Linked DNA regions of Homo sapiens: all the other regions are linked to region 1. Evidence: promoter capture Hi-C in human tissues and cell types (Jung and others, 2019). All regions are on one chromosome and are shown on one strand. Each heading gives the region's core, a stretch centred on a gene start or on the middle of the fragment in contact. The rest is flanking DNA. Distances are from core to core; before and after follow the strand shown. Region 1 holds the start of SPINT3 (serine peptidase inhibitor, Kunitz type 3). Region 2 overlaps WFDC9 (WAP four-disulfide core domain 9). Region 3 has its middle 12 kb from the start of WFDC8. Region 4 overlaps SYS1-DBNDD2 (SYS1-DBNDD2 readthrough (NMD candidate)).

Evidence for each region. The method cuts DNA at HindIII sites, captures the fragments that hold promoters and counts their contacts. A contact is called where the count stands out against the background at its distance.
Region 2: a contact is called between a fragment that was not itself captured here and the fragment with the promoter of SPINT3 in region 1, in 3 of the 25 tissues and cell types used here (dorsolateral prefrontal cortex, pancreas and spleen).
Region 3: a contact is called between a fragment that was not itself captured here and the fragment with the promoter of SPINT3 in region 1, in 4 of the 25 tissues and cell types used here (liver, mesendoderm cells, neural progenitor cells and 1 more).
Region 4: a contact is called between a fragment that was not itself captured here and the fragment with the promoter of SPINT3 in region 1, in 2 of the 25 tissues and cell types used here (liver and mesendoderm cells).

What each region holds. Positions count from the first base shown.
Region 1 is chr20:45,513,808-45,517,078 of GRCh38, reverse strand. It overlaps SPINT3 (serine peptidase inhibitor, Kunitz type 3), which reads left to right and starts at 1,457. Exons shown (of 2, transcript NM_006652.2): 1 at 1,457-1,546. The coding sequence starts at 1,471. The region is part of intron 1 of LOC107987282 (a long non-coding RNA gene); the gene reads right to left. The HindIII fragment of the contact is 13,872 bases long and covers 1-3,271 here.
Region 2 is chr20:45,607,797-45,611,067 of GRCh38, reverse strand. It overlaps WFDC9 (WAP four-disulfide core domain 9), which reads left to right. Exons shown (of 5, transcript NM_147198.4): 3 at 829-977; 4 at 2,258-2,405; 5 at 2,928-3,129. The coding sequence starts at 887. The coding sequence ends at 2,958. Among named protein-coding and RNA genes, the nearest start is that of WFDC10A, 20 kb to the left of the region's middle. The HindIII fragment of the contact is 3,512 bases long and covers 1-3,271 here.
Region 3 is chr20:45,589,969-45,593,256 of GRCh38, reverse strand. No RefSeq gene overlaps it. Among named protein-coding and RNA genes, the nearest start is that of WFDC8, 12 kb to the right of the region's middle. The HindIII fragment of the contact is 5,861 bases long and covers 1-3,288 here.
Region 4 is chr20:45,388,296-45,391,615 of GRCh38, reverse strand. The region is part of intron 3 of SYS1-DBNDD2 (SYS1-DBNDD2 readthrough (NMD candidate)); the gene reads right to left. It also overlaps the pseudogene NDUFB4P10. Among named protein-coding and RNA genes, the nearest start is that of TP53TG5, 12 kb to the right of the region's middle. The HindIII fragment of the contact is 5,202 bases long and covers 1-3,320 here.

The DNA of each region.
Region 1 (3,271 bases), core at 208-2,707:
AAAATTTCAGTTAGACAGACGGAATAAGTTGTAAAGACCTATTGCACAGCATGGTGACCGTAGTTAATAACATATTGTACACTTGAAAATTGCTAAGAGAGAAAATTTCTCTCTCTCTCTATATATATATACACACATATATTTCAAAACATCATATTGTACCTCATAAATATATAATGTTTCTCAACTTATGATGAGATTATAGCCTAATAAACCTAGCCTAAGTTGAAGATATCAGAAGTTGAAATGCATTTAATACACCTAACCTACCAAACATCATAGCTTAGCCTTACCTACCTTAAACTTGCTCAGAACACTTATACTAGTCTACAGTTGGGCAAAATCATCTAACACAAAGCCCCTTTTATAATGAAGTGTTGAATATCTAATGTAATTTATTGAATACTGTTCTAAAAGTGAACACAGAATGGTTGTATGGGTATTCCAAGTACTGTTTTTACTGACTGTGCATTGTGTTTGCACCATCATAAAGTCAAACACTGTAAGTCAAACCATTGTAAATTGGGGACTGCCTTTATACAATTTTTATTTCTCAATTAAAAATAAATAATAATAAATATATGATAGAATGCTTCTTGAAAAAGAATAGCTGGACCCATCACAACCTCAAATTTTAAATCTGAGGCTCACTAAATCTCCCTAAAGCATGCTGGCTTTGTCTTTCAAAAAAAATGGATCTCTAGAGAGTCAAGGAAAGGAGACAGTTGGAATGTGCTGGATTCTGGGGGTGTGTCTCTAGAGACCATGACCCTCTGAAGCAAACAAAGCTGGGCCCTCCTTCTACATGGTGCTTTTGATATTTCTATTAAAATATAATGAATCTGCTCCTCCTCCAAGTAGGTGACTGTTTCTGACTTCCAATGTGTTTGTGTGTGTTGTTGCCATAATTTCCTGGGAGCACCCAGATGGGATGGAGGCAGCATCTAATACTTTGCCTGGTGCAGTGTGGGTACTTGATGAATGTTTGTTGAATGAATGAGTGATACGAGGGCACTGAAGCAGACAGACCGGGGTCTCAGTCTTGTCTCTGAAACTTGCTGTCCATGTAACAATGGTCAAAGTAGCATAACCTCCTCTCATCTACAAAATGGGAGTGTTAGTGTTGTGGGATTCCCGTGTAGACTTAAGGGAAGCAATGTGTGAAAACTATTTTGCATGGTGCCTGGAAAAGGAAAGGTACTCAAAAATGGCTGCTGTCTTTTTATTATTGTGAAAAAGGCTTCCACCCTGAAGTGGTACTAAAGTAGCCTGGGTGGCCAGATCAGATAAGGCCAGGAGGAGAGAGGTGAAGCTGTGCTTTGGCTGAACACTCTGTTCCTGAGGCAGCCCAGCCCCATGAAAAGCCTGAGTTAAAGGTGAATGAGCTGGATGTGGGGCCAGGCTCCTCCCCTTGGTCCCTTTTCTCCCTAAAATGGCAACCCCAGGCTGAGCCACTGGCTGAGTGGCACCATGCAGCTTCAGGCCTCTCTCTCGTTTCTCCTGATTCTCACTCTCTGCCTAGAGCTTCGATCAGAACTAGCACGAGGTTGGTATGAAATGTGGGATCTCAAAGAATAGACTGGGAATCAGGCTGGGGGGCGGGGTGGTGGGGGAGGTGATGCAGCACAAACAGAGCCCATTTCTTACCTTACCGGATTGAGAGTCAATTCAGTTCAATTCACTTCATCAGACATATGTTGGGCACATAGTTATGTGCCAGGCACTGTCCTAGGTGCTGAGGTTAAAGCAAAGAGCCTGAGACCCTGCCTTTGTGAAATTAAGATGCTAATGGGAGAGAGACATACAATACCTAATACAAATGATAGATGATCAAAGTGCTATAGAAAATGAAATAAGTAAAGCAGGAAAAGGGGCCTTCAATGTCTGGGGTGGGGCTGGTGGCAGGCAAGGAGAGGTTGGGAAAAGGAGATCAGAGCCAGAATTTGAGAGTGAGGGACTTAGCCAAGTTAGATGCACTTGTCAGAAAAGGCTCCTTCCTGGACCACTTTCTCTGTGGAAGCTTGGAATCTGCAAATGGAAGTGGGGAGATGAAGTGCAGTTATAGCTAAGATAATCTGCTGGAAATGGGGATGGTAGGCAGCAGTTTCCAAGATTTTTAAGCAGCCAGTAGGATGCCCTGTATAAAAATGCATATTAGAATACACAAAAGGGTAAGAAAGAAGGTGAAAAATTATCAAAATCTTACCCTCTGGAGATTATCACTGTCAATGTGCCAGTGAACATTCTTGCATGTGCAAGCATAGTTCTCTGCATGTATGTACATGGAGCTATTAATGATAGATTCTTAGACATAAATGGAACTCTAAACCTCCCAATAACCTTATAGATGAGTGGTTCTCGAGTTTGTCCCCTAGTCTGACAGCAATAGCAGCAGCAGTATCAACTGGAAACATGCTAGTTCCCAGTCCCACCTGATCAGAAACTGTGGAGGTGGGTCTCTCTAACAAGCCTTCTAGATGATTCTGACGCATACTCAAGTTTGAAAATGTCTGCCATAAGTAAGAAGAATGTAGTGGTTTACAGTATGAGCATTCCTGGAGTCAGACACACCTGGGTTCTGGTCCAGGCTCCTCTACTTACAAACTCTGTGCCTCAGGAACATCATTTATAGCCTCTCTGAGCATCAGTTTCTTCTTCTATAAAAAAAGATTAACCATCTTTTCTGCTTTATTAATCAAATAGTCTGATGTATGTCAAGCTCTCAGTATAACTTAGCTCTTAATAGATTCTTGTAAAGCACTTAGAACAGCTTCTGTCACACTCAAAACACACACACAGGGTGTCATTATCTACTTTACATAAAAAAGAAGCAAGTCAAGTGATTTTCCTTTGGTTTAATGGAATGGAAGAGCAGAGAAGCAAGACTGAGAAAACTAAGAGCAGATGGGACTCCAGCCCCTACAGAGTCACCTGTAAGGGTCTAAGGGCCGATGATGCAGTGACTAGGATGTCTTAAGAACATGCCCCTCCACCTCCCACCTGGATTGAATAAGCTATTCTGCCTCTTCCCCATTCTCCTGCACCCTTAGCGTCAGCCTTGCAGGTAGGAGGATAAGACAGAGTCTGAACCTTTCCAAGCCCTAGGCTGCTGCCTGAAGTTCCACCATAGGTGTGATCATTCATCTGTGCATTCACTCATTTTACAACAACCAAGATGGATGGAGAACCTGCAAGCCTTTGCAGTCGAACCATGCTGGGTTTGATTCTTGGTCCTACTGCTTCCTAGCCTGACATTAGGACAGGTACTTCA
Region 2 (3,271 bases), core at 310-2,809, 94 kb before region 1:
GCAGTTCAGATACTTCACAAATTAGAGCCCTCTTCTCTGCTACTACAGGCCGCTTTGGCCAGATTTAAAGTCACCCTTTAAAGTCTTCAGTCATGATTCAAGTCTACTGTGTTCCCATAGACTTCTAGGATCACATAGCAAGCTCAATGAGTCGTATTCATAAAACCTTTTCTCTCAACTTGGAATTAGGAGGCAGCATTCCGGCTTTCACGAGCAAAGCTTTTTACCAATAAAATTTCCTTCAAAATCTTCTCTACAATTCCTCCAACTTTGGACCATCTTAGTGCATTAAAGTTTTGAGTCCCCTAACAGTTCTTGGCCATCATCTTTTCTCAAGTCCTGTTATCTATCTGTAATTCCCTCTTAAATTGCTTTAGTGCCTTTTGTCTTAGGATCTTCACTAAAACTTCTTTACATCATCATGTTTCATATGCTTCAAAATAAAATATCAGGACACTTGATGTGTCCAATTTCATAAAAATAATGACTACAACATAAAAGTATAGACATATATTGATTATCTCTAGATGGTGGAATTGCTAATGCTTGTTTATTTCCTCTTTGTATTTTTAATTTTACATATTATATAATCTGAGGATTTATTGTTTTTAATCAGACAGGAGAAATTCATTTTAATAAGAAATAATTTTGCAAAGGAAGGGGTATGTAATATGAGATGAGAAGAAACCTGGGGAAGTCACTGGCTAGCCTGGGAGTTGGTTGGTATGCTACTGGGTACTAGAAAGGGAAAGAATAACATGATAGTCATAAGCACTTTACCCCTGTTGCTTACCCTGTTCTCCTCAATCCATTTTCTACGTCTAGCAGTATTGGGAAAAGACTTGCCTTCTGCCAGAACTTAACCCAAATACACACAGAGAGCACCATGAAGCCCTGGATTCTTCTACTCGTCATGTTCATCTCTGGAGTTGTGATGCTTCTGCCTGTGCTGGGAAGCTTCTGGAACAAAGATCCCTGTGGGTGGTGTGAAAAGGGACGGGGTGCTCTGCCCAGTCCTGGGATGTCTATTGTAGCTGATCCAGGGCCTGCATGTCAAGAATCAGGCTTTAAAGGATCTCTCCTTAAGTAGAGATATTCAAGCAAGATTAGGTTAGATATTCCCAATTCCTTTAAGTTTTCTCTTTCAGCTCTGAAAGCAACACTAGGTATGTGAAAAGGGAACGTATCTTTTGTCTATATTCCATCAGCTAGCAGGAAATAATATTTTCCAATATCAGACCAGTAGAGGAAAAACCAACACAGAGCTTCCCTCCAAGCCCATATTTTCAGAACCTTTGTGCCTCAGTTGGGTGAGCCTTTGATGAATGCCAAAAGGGTAATATTTAACACGTTAATTTAGTTGGAGGGGAAGAGTCTTTTAGAACATGAAAAATGGAAAAGACAAATAAAGGCTCCTTAGTGGGTCAAAGTTTGGGTTCATATGATAAGAAAATGTGGACAACAAAGACACTGAGCAGGAGGGTTGTGGGCCAGGGAAATAAAATTTATGGAGAGACTGACTTCTTAGGTGGCATCATCAGGGAAACAAATAGAAGGGGAGAAAAATGGCTGGGCACGGCGTCTCACACCTGTAATCCCAGCACTTTGGGAGGCTGAGGTGGGCGGATCACGAGGTCAGGGGTTCGAGACTGCCCAACCAACATGGTGAAACCCCGTCTCTATTAAGATACAAAAAATTAGCCAGGCATGGTGGTGTGCTCCTGTAATCCCAGCTACTCAGGAGGCTGAGGCAGGAGAATCGCTTGAACCCGGGAAGTGGAGGTTGCAGTGAGCTGAGATCATGCCGTTGCACTCCAGCCTGGGCGACAGGGCAAGACTCTGTCTCAAAAAAAAAAAAAAGAGAAGGGGAAAAAAAGTAAGTTTCTATTCTCCCTTGGCTCAGTTTCCCACTCTGCAAATTGGCTTTGGAAATTGGAGTTAGAGGATATTGCAGGCCCTGAAATCTAAGGTTACATGAGAATAAATTTGGTGGTTGGTGTCATATATGGTCAGGGTGTCCCAGGTCCTATCTTTAGAGTCTGAAATGCTGTAGGGACATGTAGATGGAGGAACACAGGCCATGCAAGGATGGTCTTGTGACAAGACACTGGTTATAATTTGAGGAAGGGATTTTCTTGGAAGGCAGAGAAATACTTTGTGGCTTGGAGCTCAAGTTTCAGAAGGGATTGTTAAGCTTAGAAAAGGTTTCTTGTCTGAGTTGTGAATAGACGGACCCTGCTAACTTCTTCCATCTCAGTTCTAGATATGATAAGAGAAACTGAGCAGTGCTGGGTACAGCCTCCATATAAGTACTGTGAGAAAAGGTGTACTAAAATAATGACTTGTGTACGTCCAAATCATACATGCTGCTGGACCTACTGTGGAAACATCTGCTTAGACAACGAGTGAGTTGGTTGGGGTGGGAAGGCTAGGGCCTGGGCATGCTTCATCACTGGTCCTTACCGACTATTCAAAAGACCGCAGCCACCCAAATCCTGGTTAAAGAAATAGGCAGCAAAAGACAATGTCCTCCTATCTCCAAACCTAGGCTGCTCCTCACTGCAAAATAAACCAAGACACCAACATGAGGTCCTCTACTTTTTTCTTCACTCTTATTCAGTTCCCTTTGCTTCCCTCAACATATCACCCAACAGTTCATACATCCCTCCTTTATCCAAAGTTCCAATTACTAACCCCTTAGTTGGGCGTCTCCATGGGCGCTCTACTCTCAGCCAGGCCCAAGGAGACCTGGTATCTATCTGTCTGTTCAGTTGGCAAACTTCTTGGGGGAAATTGCTTAAAAGTGGGTAACTTCTGATTTAGCAGAAGAATTGCTGTCCTTTTTCATCTGGGGCCTAGGATGCTATTAATTTTAGAAATGGATTTATCCCAGGATTCTTGACTTTTGACTAACTTTTCTCTTCTAGAGAGCCCCTTAAATCAATGCTAAACCCCTAGATTCTATTGGCCGATCACTACTGTGGGCTGAAGGATGACCATCTGGTCTAAGAAGAGTGCTGCCTACTTCCTTCTTGGGACACCCACTGGCTCTAGCTGGTAACCTTTCTGCTATTTCCTTGACCTCTTTACCCTGAAGCTTTTGTCAAATAAACTGCTACATCAACCTGAGGGCTCTGCATATTTTTTTTTAACTTCCTCCCTATGACTTAATTTCTCTCATTGCAATCCTCAGCAGTCCCAACAGTTGTTTCCACTCAATCATGGGCAGAGGTGCCCAGTTCTGCCTTCCCAGTTAGACCCATGTATGAAC
Region 3 (3,288 bases), core at 744-3,243, 76 kb before region 1:
GGAAAGAAATATCAGGCCAGGCACAGTGGCTCACACCTGCAATCCCAGCACTTTGGGAGGCCAAGGAGGGTGTATCACTTGAGGTCAGGAGTTCAAGACCAGCCTGGCCAACATGGTGAAACCTCGTCTCTACTAAAAATACAAAAATTAGCTAGGTGTGGTGGCACATGCTTGTAGTCCCAGCTACATGGGAGGATGAGGCAGGAGAATTGCTTGAACCCAGGAGATGGAGGTTGCAGTGAGCCAGGATCACGCCACTGCTCTCCAGCCTGGGTGAGTGAGACTCTATCTCAAAAAAAAAAAAAAAGAAAAGAAAAGAAATGAAATATCAGAGATTTATGCAGGCAAATGATGAACAAGAAAATGGAAGAAGGAATGAAGAAAAACAGAAAGGGAAAATATGTGGGTAAATCTAATCTGTGGTTCCCAAGTCAGGACAATTGTGCCCACTAGGGGACATTTGGCAATGTTTGAAGACATTTTTAATTGTCACAACTTGGGGGTTGGTGCTACTGACATCTAGTGGATAGAGACCAAGGATGCTGCTAAACATCCGTAATGCGTGGAACAGCCTTTTACAACAAATAATTATATGGCCCAAAACATCAACAGGGCCAAAACCGAGATATCTTTATTTAAGTTACTATTGATTATACAGTCAATAGTAATTTCCATGGAATTTAGATTTATGTAGAATTATGGTACATTAAAAAAAAACACAAAAGATGTGAGTACTTGGAGGTAAAATGTTTGAAAATTTTTGCATTGCCTGGGATGCAAATTTTATTTTATACCCTAATAAGTCCAAGATGAATTTTGTAATGTAAGAGAATAACTAACTAACAAGTCAATGAGGGGGGCAGTGTTAATGAAATTATAGGAAAAAAGCTTGATTAATCCAAAGTGCAAGAAGGATAAAAAGAAAAATAGAACAGCTGTTGGACAATAGAAATTGCATAGTAATTGGTTGATACAAACCCAAATATATCATTTATTGCATTAAATACAAACAGACCTAATATTACAAATAAAAGACAAAGACTGTCAGAGTGAATAAACAAAACGAATGCAGCTTAAGACATCTATCTTAAATATAAGGTTTGAAAGATCTACCTTAAGGTTTGAAAGTTGAAGGATGTAAGCAAGTATACTATGCAAATGCTAACAAAAGACTGTGAGTATGAATATGTTAATATCAGACAAAGTAGCCTTTAAAGCAAGAAGCATTATTAAAGATAAAACTGGACATTTCATGATGATGAAATTGTCAATCCACCACAAACAAATAGTAGTTTGAAATGTGATTTATCTAGTAATACGGCATCAAATATATTAAGCAAAAATTGGCAGAACAAAAAAAAAGAAATAAAAATCACAGTGGAAGTTAGAAGGAAGAAAATAATAAAAAGAAAAAAGTGAATGAAGTAAAAACATACATTAAAGTATATATTTAAATCTGTAAGTTACACTATAGATTTAAATGTCAAAAATATAACGTAAGATGCTAGAAGATAACACAGAAGAATATCTTCATAACTTTGGGGCAGGAAATCCTTCTTAAATGGGAAACAAAAATACTAACCATAGGGGAAAAGATGGATAAATTGAACTACATTAAAATAATAATTTCTGTTTATTAAAAAATAAAAGAGAGTGAAAAAGCAAATTACAGAGTGAGAGAAGATATTTGTAATATACATATTTATCAAGGGACTCATATCCAGGGTATATAAGAATGTGTAATAAATAAGAAAAGGGCATAAAATTGAAAAATGAGCAAAAAGATTCAACCAGCCAATTTATAAAAGACAATATCCAAATGTTCAATAAAAGGTAATAAAAAGGTGCCCAACTTGATTAGTTATCAGGAAAATGCAAATTCAAATCACAAAACACACACATAACAGAAGGGCTAAAATGAAAAAGATTTTTTAAGGCAGGGCGCGGTGGCTCATGCCTGTAATCCCAGCACTTTGGGAGGCCGAGGCGGGTGCACCACGAGGTCAGGAGATCGAGACCATCCTGGCTAACACGGTGAAACCCTGTCTCTACTAAAAATACAAAAAATTAGCCAGGTGTGGTGGTGGGTGCCTGTAGTCCCAGCTACTTGGGAGGCTGAGGCAGGAGAATGGCGTGAACCCGGGAGGTGGAGCTTGCAGTGAGCCAAGATCACGCCACTGCACTCCAGCCTGGGCAACAAAGCAAGACTCCATCTAAAAAAAAAAAAAAAGTTTTTAAGAAACCTAAATGTTGCAGAAAAATCAGCATCACTGGAAGTCTCATATTCTGCTGATGAGAATGTATACTGATATAACCAATTTGGAAAACTGTTTGGCAGATCTCCTAAAACTGAACATATGCATATCCTATGACCCAAAAATTCCACTTCTAGGTATATACCCAACAGGAATATCTATATGTATGCCCAGTGCCATATATAAAAGTGGTCATAGAAACATTCATAAGACTCTAACTTGGATACAATCCAAATATCTATCAAAAGTGGAATGGATTAAATATTATATTCATTCAATGGAATATTATATAACAATGAAATTGAATGAACAACATCCACAATATAGACGGACTTTCCAAACATGATGTTGAGCAAAAGAAGCCAGACACAAAATAATACACACTGTATTATTCCATTTATATAAAGTTTAAAATAGGCAAGTCTAATTGATGGTGATAAAATTTAAAATAGCGATGACCTTTTCTTGGATGAGAGAAGAGGAATATTATCTGATGATCTCTTTCTTAATCTGGGTGGTGTCTAGATGGGTATGTATGTAGTAAAAATCCACTAATGATTTATGCACTTGTGTGCAGTATACATAAAGAAAACAGTACTTGCTCCCAAAATCATTTTATAGAAAATAAATTATTTCTGCAATATTTGATTAAATGAAAAAAGTTAGAAACAGCATGTATAATCTGAGGCATATTTGATGAAAAACACATATATATAGATTATATATGAGTAGAGGTAAAGATTAGATATAAATTCAGATGATATATGTATTGATACAGTAAAAAAATCTGGACACGTAGTAAATTATCAACAGTTATTATCTCTAGGTAAGGAATAACTACTATCTCATTACTTCTCTTTGTTCTTTTCTGTTTTTCAAATGTATATTTTTCAAATTTCAAAAATTAAAAAAAAGTGTGGAGAATTTATTTCTGCAATGAGAGGTGTATGAGCTATAAGAAAAAGGAAGTACTTTGTGAGAAGCCAGTGCCCACCCAGGGAGTGATGGCCAGAGGAGTGGAGGAGGCAGAACC
Region 4 (3,320 bases), core at 22-2,521, 130 kb after region 1:
ACCTTACCAATAATACAGCAACAATTTAAATTGCAGCAGATTTCTCATCAGAAACTGTGAAAGCCAGAAAGAAGTGGCACAATATGTTTAAGTACTGAAAGAAAAAACCGTCAACCCAGAATGCTAAGCAAAGTGAAAAAATCCTTCAGGTATGAAAGTCAAGACATTCTCAAATGAAGGAAAAACTAACATAATTTGTTAACTGAAGAACTATAGTAAGTCCTTAATGTCATCAATAGTTTCTTGGAAACTGCAACTTTAACCAAAATGATGTATAATGAAAGCAAGTTTATCGTAGACTAATTGATATTAACAAGGTAAGTCCATACAGCATACTTCTGGTCACAAAAACAATACCACGCTTCTAAATAAATGCCCAGACACATCTAGTATTAAACATTAAAATAAATGTGAGCTATACATACATTTAAGAAAGATTAATAAAACAGGGAAGTTCATTATTTACTCACCTATTGGTGATGTAATTAAAGTGAGGTCATGCTGGATTAGTATAAGCAGTGAGTGACAGCAGTCATCATGGTGGTGAGTTAAACCAAGGAATAAATCTTTGCAGAGCAAAAATTGTAAGGAGTATCTCCTACCACCATGCAGTTCAAAAACAATAATAAATATGGCAGGCTGGCTGAGTGCTCTTATACCAAATTATTTACTGTTATGCATTTGTATGATTATTATATACTTTACAAATTTTTATTTTACAATAATTTGTATTCACTTATTCTTCATTTCCAACCTGCTTATTCCATTTCAGGGTCCTGGGTGGCTGAATCTTATTCTGGCAGCTCAGGGTGCAAGGCACCCTGGAAAGGATGCCATTCCATCACAGAATGCGTGCACGCACACACACACACACCCCTCACTCATACTTGGATAATTTAGATAATTTAGATACACCAATTAACCTAATGTGCACATCTCTGGGATGTGGGAGGAAATTGGAGTGCCCAGAGAAAACCCACACAGACATGACGAGAATGTGCAAACTCTACACAGACAGTGGCCATGGCTGGGAATCAGTTGTTGTTTTTTTTTCTCATCAACATTATAAAGAAATGACGTTAAACAAAATAACATTATTTGAGGACCTGCTGTACCGTGAAAGAATGGCTAAAGGAAGTTCTCCAAACATAAAGGAAATGATGAAAGAAGAAAACCCGAAACATCAGGAGTGAAGAAAGAACAATGGAAATAATAAAAATATGGGTAAATATGATGGGCTATCCTTCTTCACTTGCATTTTCTAAATTATGTTTGATGGCTAAAACAGAAATTATATAACATGGTCTGATGTGGATTCAATTTATGTAATGAAGATATTTAAGACAATTACATTATGAAAGGAGAAGGGTAAAGGGACCTAAATAGAGGTCAGGCTTCTATCCCTCACTCAAAGTGGCAAAAGTGTCGATACCAGTAGATGGTCATAGATTATGTTATGTATGATGTAATATAGAAAGCAGCCACTAAAAAACCTACACAAAGAGATACACTTAAAAAAAACACTTCACCATAGATAAAAAAAATGGAATTCTAAAAACTGTTTAACCCATAGGAAGAGTAGAGAAATAAAAGAGAAGAATGAAAAGCAGAGGGAATGAAAAGAAAACAATCAAATGGCAGGCTTAAACCCTAACAAATAATTGCATTAACTGCCGGTAGTCTATAAATATACTTTATAACTCTGAGACTGGCAAAACGGAGTGAAAAAAATGACCCAAAATAAGCTCTCTACAAGAAACTCACTTCAAATATGACATAGGTAGACTGAACATAAAAGGATGAAAAAAGATACACCATACAAAGATTAATTAAAAGAAAGCAGAGTTAGCAATTTCAATATCAGATGAAATAGACTGCTGAGCAAAGAAAATCACCAGGGCCAAAAAAAGATATTAAATGGGTCAAATCACAAAGAAGACATAGCAATCATACATGTGTACATACCAAACAACAGATCTTAAAAATCTATGAAACAAAAATTGGTAGAACTGAAAAAAAAAATAGACATCTACTATTAAAGTTGGAGACTTCAACACATCTCTCTCAACACTTGATAGAAATACTAGACAGAAGGGTGGGCATGGTGGCTCACACCTGTAATCCCAACATTTTGGGAGGCCAAGGCGGGTGGATCACCTAAGGTCAGGAGTTCAAGACCAGCCTGGCCAACATGGTGAAACCCTGTCTCTACTAAATATAAAAATTAGCCGGGTGTGGTGGCGGGCGCCTGTAATCCCAGCTACTCGGGAGGCTAAGGCAGGAGAATTGCTTGAACCCGGGAGGCGGAGGCTGCAGTGAGCCGAGATTGTGCCACTGCACTCCACCCTGGACGACAGAGCAAGACTCTGTCTCAAAAAAAAAAAAAAAGAAACACTAGACAGGAAAGCAGCAAGGATGTATAAGAACTTTAAAAAGCCATCAATCAAAAGAATCTAATTAATATTTAGACAATACTTCACATAACAATAACAAGATTCACATTCTTTTGAAATGCTTATGGAACACTCACCAAGACTATATCTTAAGTCACAGAATAAAAGTCAACTAAAAAAAATTTTTTTAAAGAGACAGCATCTTGCTCTATTGCCCAGGCCGGAGTGCAGTGGTGCCGATCATGGCTTACTGCAGCCTTCAACTCCTATCCTCAAGTGATCCTCCTACCGTGGCATCCAAGAGACTTGGGATTACAGGCATGAACCACTGCTCCCGGCCTCAAGGAATTTTTGAAAATCAAAATCGCACAGCATGTGTTCTGAGATCACAATGAAATCAAACTAGAAATCAATAACAAAAAGATAATAGGTAAATCTCCAAACATATGGAAATTAAACACCTCATTTCTGAATAATACATGAGTCAAGAGGCGCAGTTGTGCACTGGGTCACCAAGATGACTCTCCCAAACTATACTCCATCACACCTGGCCCCTCTGCCCATGACCCTCAATCCAGCTGAATATGACATACCTCCACAAACTGCAACCTGAGCATTTGGCCATAAATCTGGGTTTAAACAGGGGTACTTAATCAGCACAATGACCCTAACCAATGATGATTCATCGAGGGCTCATCAAACATCTTGGCTTAATTTGTTGGACTTGTGTAAGATCAGCACATGTCTATCCCAATTTCAGACCCATTATCAAATACTCATCCAGTAGCTCTATGTGGAATCGGATCCGGTAGGGATAGGAAAGAAAAGCTTATCCAGGAAGAAAAATTGGATCAAACATTTAACATCTCATATTAAGTCTAGCAATGACGATTTTATGTATTCCTGCTTAAATACACTTCTATTAAT